Regions from separate parts of the Homo sapiens genome. Here region 1 is linked to region 2. Evidence: promoter capture Hi-C in human tissues and cell types (Jung and others, 2019). All regions are on one chromosome and are shown on one strand. Each heading gives the region's core, a stretch centred on a gene start or on the middle of the fragment in contact. The rest is flanking DNA. Distances are from core to core; before and after follow the strand shown.

Region 1 (2,700 bases), core at 1-2,500, 240 kb before region 2:
GAATAACCAATGCATGTTATGAATCAATAACCAGGTAAGTCAGTAACAGTTCATGTAAGCAACACTGGCTGGCTTAGCAACTGGGTTTTAGATACCAGGACTTTTCAGATCCGTCAACAAAGACCCTGGCTCATCACCAAACACTTACTGGTTGCATCTCTGTGAACACTGAAGAGAGGCTATTCCAAATATCCTCCAGGCCAATCCTGACCCGTTTCCAAAAAGCCAGGGCTGGGCAGGGGCTGGCGGGTGGCAGGCTGGGACTGCTTCTGAGGTGGATGGTGGGGAAGGGGGTAGTGGTGGTCCTGGTACTGGTGGTGCTCTGAGAGGCACAGTTGGTGTCAGTACAGAGACTTGTGTCCAGGGGGCACTCTTCCCGAAGTCGGTTGCAGGGACATTGTTGATAGGTGCAAGGCTTGTGCTCCGTGCGGAGCTGGCTCAGCGCCCCAACTCGAAGGCGCCCGGAAAGGCCGTGCAGCTTCCCAGACCGGCTCCGGCTCATGGTGCCCGACTTGCAGTGGCAGTGCCACGGGCCCCAGGGCATCAGCACCAGCCGCAGATCCTCAGGAGATGGCATGGCTGTGGGTGAGGGTGACGGCCACCGGCTCGGGGTAGACCCAGGTGTGGACCACTGGCTCAGGGTGGCCTGCGAGCCTGGCAGGTCCTCAGTAGACCTCCCGGGGGAGCGCGGCAGGCTTGAAGTCAGCCTGATTTCAGGCTCCTGACTATTGGCTATAAACCTCGTGCTGGAACTCCCCGCTGTATTGGGAGTCGCACTGGGAAGCTCTCTGCTGGTGCTATCCTTTCCGGCATTAATCACAACCCCCTCTTCTGAAGACCCATCCTCCTCGTTAATGGCGGACGACCGGCTAAAGCCGGTGGACACCGTGGCGGCCAAGAGCTCGGCAGCCGCTGGTCCAGCCAGGCGGTCGGCGTCGGCCATGGCATCATTCTCGTCCTCTAGGATTATCCTTGTCTTCCGGGGAAGACCAGTCCGGGCGGTGCTCCGGTAGCTGCGGGTCATGGGGCCCCCAAAGCGTAAACTGACCCGCTGCATTTCGGTCGGAGTCTGGGTCAGGCCTTGGGCCCCCGCCGCCCGGGGACCCAGATTCAGCAGCAGGACCCACAGCAGCGCGCCGGCGGCGGGGACCATGGGGCTGGGCTCTTGGGGTTGGGAGGGTGGCCAGTGAGGCAAGCCCTGCCTCCTACCTTCGCTCCCTCCCTTCCGCTGTAGACCCACCGGGTCGTTTGAACCGAGGCCCGCGGGGAAGGGGGTGGGGTTCGACGCGCAGGCGCGCTCGCGCGGGCCGCGCGGGGTGCTCCTAAGGAACCTCTGCGGCAAGAACTCTGCCAGAACCGAAGGTTTGGGATGCAAGGGGTGGTGAAAGAGTCGTTCACTTCTTTGGAGCAGAGCTTAAATGTCTCATCGCAGTTTATTAGCCTCTACAGTTCTAAATTTACTAAAGAGGGCAAAAATACAGGTTTTGAAAGCACTCCTTCCCAGGCTCACAGGCAGCAGACATGACTTAGAAGGAAAAAGGGCATACAGCGGTTCTTCAAGATTTAATGAGCTGACTCTCCTGGCTCCCAGCAGGCAGGCTGGCTGTCAGGTAAGCCTCTTCCATCCAAGGTGGAAGGATCACAGTCCCTCCAGTTAGACAGGAGGAAAATTAGGACCCAAAAAGATGAAGTTATTTGCCCAAGGTTCTACAGCTAAAGTAGGATTAAAACCCAGAGCTCTGGCCGAGCGCGGTGGCTCACACCTGTAATCTCGGCACTTTGGGAGGCCGAGGCGGGCAGATCACGAGGTCAAGAGATCGAGACCATCCTGGCCAACATGGTGAAACCCCGTCTCTACTAAAAATACAAAACAATTAGCTGGGCGTGGTGGCGTGCGCCGGTAGTCTCAGCTACTCGCTGAGGCTGAGGCAGAAGAATGGCTTGAACCGGGAGGCGGAGGTTGCAGTGAGCCGAGATCGCACCACTGCACTCCAGCCTGGCGACAGAGCGAGACTCCGTCTCAAAAAACAAAAAACAAAAAAACCCAGAGCTCTGCATATCCCATACAAAATGACCCTACATTCAGCCTTCCGTCCCAGCAACTGGAATGAAAGTCACCCAGCAGATCAGTTTCCCAGCCTCAAAGCCCTGCTGAAAGTAGGGTCATGCAAAGGACAAAATCCCACTGAGAAGTGAAGATCCGGTGGTACTGAGGTTGGGGATAAGATGATTTACAAAACAGTTCAGATGTTTCAGGGATTCAGGTGTAGGCAGATCACTAACTGGTTCTAAGGCCTTTTATCCAGTCCTGTGCTATGTCCCTCCTGAGCCATGGAGATCCCGGTCCAGCCTAGGAGAGGGAGAGGGGGAGGAGAGAAGTGGTTCAGGGGGTAGGACTTGGGTTTTATTTTCTGGTTTGGGGAGAGAAGCCAGGTGAATTGGAAGAGCTAGATGATTGGGTTGAGTCATCATTTAGCACTTTTGCTCCCTAACACCCTCTCCCCCACTGGATATCATCTGTTCACTGCCAACACATCTCTTCCTAATTTCTAGGGCCAGTCTGAATCTCCTCTGCACTGTGATTATTCCTTTATTCCTTATTGCCTCTGCACTTATATGTATAGGTTTTTTTTTTTTTTCATTTATTCTTGTTGGATGCAGTAGTGTCCTTCATTTCTTCTCTGGGTGTGTGCAGTTTCC
Region 2 (3,056 bases), core at 1-2,500:
AGCTTCCCAAGTAGCTGGCACTACAGGTGTGTGCCACCATGCCCAGCTAATTTTTGTGTTTTTTTTTTTTAGTAGAGATGGGGTTTCACTATATGTTGGCCAGGCTAGTCTCGAACTCCTGACCTTAGGTGATCCACATGCTTTGGCCTCCCAAAGGCCTGGGATTACAGGCGTGAACCACTGCGCCTAGCCTGTTAGCAGCTCTTAAAATCCAGAGGCATAAGCCTGTATTTTTGAGGGTTTATGCATGGAATCCAGCTAGAAACTGAGTCTATTACAGATCCCATTTATTATCCTTTCTATTCCAAGAAGCCTTTTTTTCTCCTTCCCCACATCTGTTTATGGAAGAAAATGAAGTTTGGGGTGTGGTTTGAGGAATCAGCTAGATTCTTATGATCTGTCACATGCTTGGATGTTGGGGAAGCATTTGGAGAAGCTCATGTGACTTGTCCTAGATTGGGGATTTTAATTGAGACAGATGATGTTTATCGGGCATCCCACCACCTGAGAGTTTTAGCAACAGAGTCACATGTGAGTCCATCAGAACTTACGGCATTGATTCAAGTGCTGTCATAAATAACCAGGACTGCTGTTTTTGGTTACTTTTAAAGACAGTTTCATCTGGACTTTCTGGGCATATCCTCCTTCAGCAAAACCACATTAGGCTGGGAAAACTATTCTGCCTGGAAGTAATGACAACTTGCAACCAACAAGCTTATAAAAATACAAAGAATTCTGGAGCCTATGGCTTCCATTACATTATTCTTTTATAGCCTTTTATGTTCATTACCGCATCCCAGAGGTGAGAGTCAGACACAAATATGAAAATAGGTTTCAATGTTGGAGAGGTAAATCCTAACAGGAAAGGGGTAGGAAAAGATATAATCCCCCAATATTAAAATAAAGATATTGAAGAAGAAGGATGGGAGAGACTAGGGCTGTGTCCTTCCTTTTACTCACCAAAAGAGAAAGTAAGCTCCTATTTGAGTCAATAGATATTGAGGTCTTGTTATTTGCCACCAAAGACAGTCTTGTGAGACTAAATAGCTAGTAATTCCCTACCCTGGCACACATGCTGCATACACACAGAAACACTGCAAATCCACTGCCTCCTTCCCTCCTCCCTACCCTTCCTTCTCTCAGCATTTCTATCCCCGCCTCCTCCTCTTACCCAAATTTTCCAGCCGATCACTGGAGCTGACTTCCGCAATCCCGATGGAATAAATCTAGCACCCCTGATGGTGTGCCCACACTTTGCTGCCGAAACGAAGCCAGACAACAGATTTCCATCAGCAGGTAACGTTTGCAACTTCCTAGATCTTTTAGCTTTTCATTCCTGTCAATTCTCTGAGTATTAGGGATGTAGTGACTTGAGGATCACAATAAACTTTTAGCCTCTGCAGATGAAAACAGAGATGCACTTCTTAGGTCATTCCCTGGCTAAATAAAATCTGCCTGGAAATCTGTAGAATTCCTTGTATGATTTATATATATACATACATGATTGTTAGTAAAAGCAAAGTATATAGGGAATCATTTCCCCATCCTTCAAGAGTGGCCTTTCTGCAGTGTTTTCTACTTTGGCCAACAAGGATCAAAACGGTTAACTCCTTAGTGAGGAGGAGGAGAGTGGTATGGGGAGGTAGTAGCTCAGTGCTTCCTGTTCACTGAGACATCTCAAAGCCCTTAACACTCTAGTTTTTAAATGTCCTACTGGACATTTTGCCAGTTTGCAAAATTACATGTAAATGGACTATAAGCAATTGTGTAAGCCATATGTCATGCTGCAGGCTGCAAATTGTTCTTAAAATGGAGGATTTGTAATTAAGAAAGCCAATGCAAGAAATGAGTGAAGCTAACTAGAGTAAACTTATGAAAAGCTGTGAATTTCATCATCATAGAACATTGCTTTTCAGTCTGAACATTCTTCTAACAAACCTTGGATCTGAGGCTTCTTGTCCTTTGCGGCAGCCACAGTGGGTTTTTGTTGTTAGGGGAAAAATAAAAAACCTTGCCCGCAGCATCTGGTTAAGATTAGGGCAGTTTCCTGCCTAAGGAGGGAAGGGAGAGAAAAAGGAAGAAGAAATGCATAAGGAGAATGAGGAGATATACAATGTCTCAGAAAACAGGAAACATTGTCCTATTTTCCCTTGTCCTCTTCTGACAAGATCTGGGAAAGTACCAGAATTTAGGCACGAAAGAGAAGAACGCCTCGAAGAAATGATCAGGAGGCAAAACTTAGACGGAAATCTCTCCTTTGTGTATTCTGAACCCCACTACCACCTTGCTATTTGTCTGTCTCCAAGCCTGCTAGGGACCCTGGAGGAAACGCACTGAGCCCATTCTGATTGTCCAGTTTCTATCCCCCATTTCTGGTTGTGTACGTGTGTGTGTGTGTGTGTGTGTGTGTGTGTGTGTGTGTGTGTGTGAGAGAGAGAGAGACAGAGAGAGAAACAGAGAGAGTGTGTGTTGCCTAAATCTCCCGAGAGAGAGAGAGAGAGAGAAAGAGAGAAATGGCTAAATCCCCCTAGATCAAAGTCCTTGGAACCAGATGTACCAGCATCCTATCTAAACACAGGCCCCTCCTGACTATCATTGTTTTATCACCCTTTTTCCGTCTACCTTTCTCTTCCTCATAAAGCCTAGTTTTCCTCTGTTTCCCTGCCAAATGGAAGAGTTTTCCCTAACTACATTCTTCTGCAGGATGTGGGGGCTCAAGGTTCTGCTGCTACCTGTGGTGAGCTTTGCTCTGTACCCTGAGGAGATACTGGACACCCACTGGGAGCTATGGAAGAAGACCCACAGGAAGCAATATAACAACAAGGTGCCTGGGGTCCTGGAGGGGGCATGGCAGGAAGGCTGAGACCTGAGCTCTCTCATCTTAGCTTCCAGACTCCCTTCTTCAATCCAAATGCTTTATTCCAAGCAAATCAGTCCCTCTTCCCTAACTCATGTTAACATACGGTTTTCATTCCTATGCTTCAAATCATCCTCTGTCAAACTGTATCCTTCCTTTGCTTTATAAGTGTGTTACATTTCTCTTTTGGGAAGAGTTC

The links. The method cuts DNA at HindIII sites, captures the fragments that hold promoters and counts their contacts. A contact is called where the count stands out against the background at its distance.
Region 1: a contact is called between the fragment with the promoter of C1orf56 here and the fragment with the promoter of CTSK in region 2, in 1 of the 25 tissues and cell types used here (adrenal gland).

What each region holds. Positions count from the first base shown.
Region 1 is chr1:151,046,301-151,049,000 of GRCh38, reverse strand. It overlaps C1orf56 (chromosome 1 open reading frame 56), which reads right to left and starts at 1,250. Exons shown (of 2, transcript NM_017860.5): 1 at 149-1,250. The coding sequence starts at 1,153. BNIPL (BCL2 interacting protein like) reads right to left here. Exons shown (of 10, transcript NM_138278.4): 10 at 1,281-2,350. The coding sequence ends at 2,314. RefSeq lists enhancers at 353-592, 873-922. The HindIII fragment of the contact is 7,874 bases long and covers 1-2,700 here.
Region 2 is chr1:150,806,454-150,809,509 of GRCh38, reverse strand. It overlaps CTSK (cathepsin K), which reads left to right and starts at 1,250. Exons shown (of 8, transcript NM_000396.4): 1 at 1,250-1,296; 2 at 2,704-2,824. The coding sequence starts at 2,705. The HindIII fragment of the contact is 16,762 bases long and covers 32-3,056 here.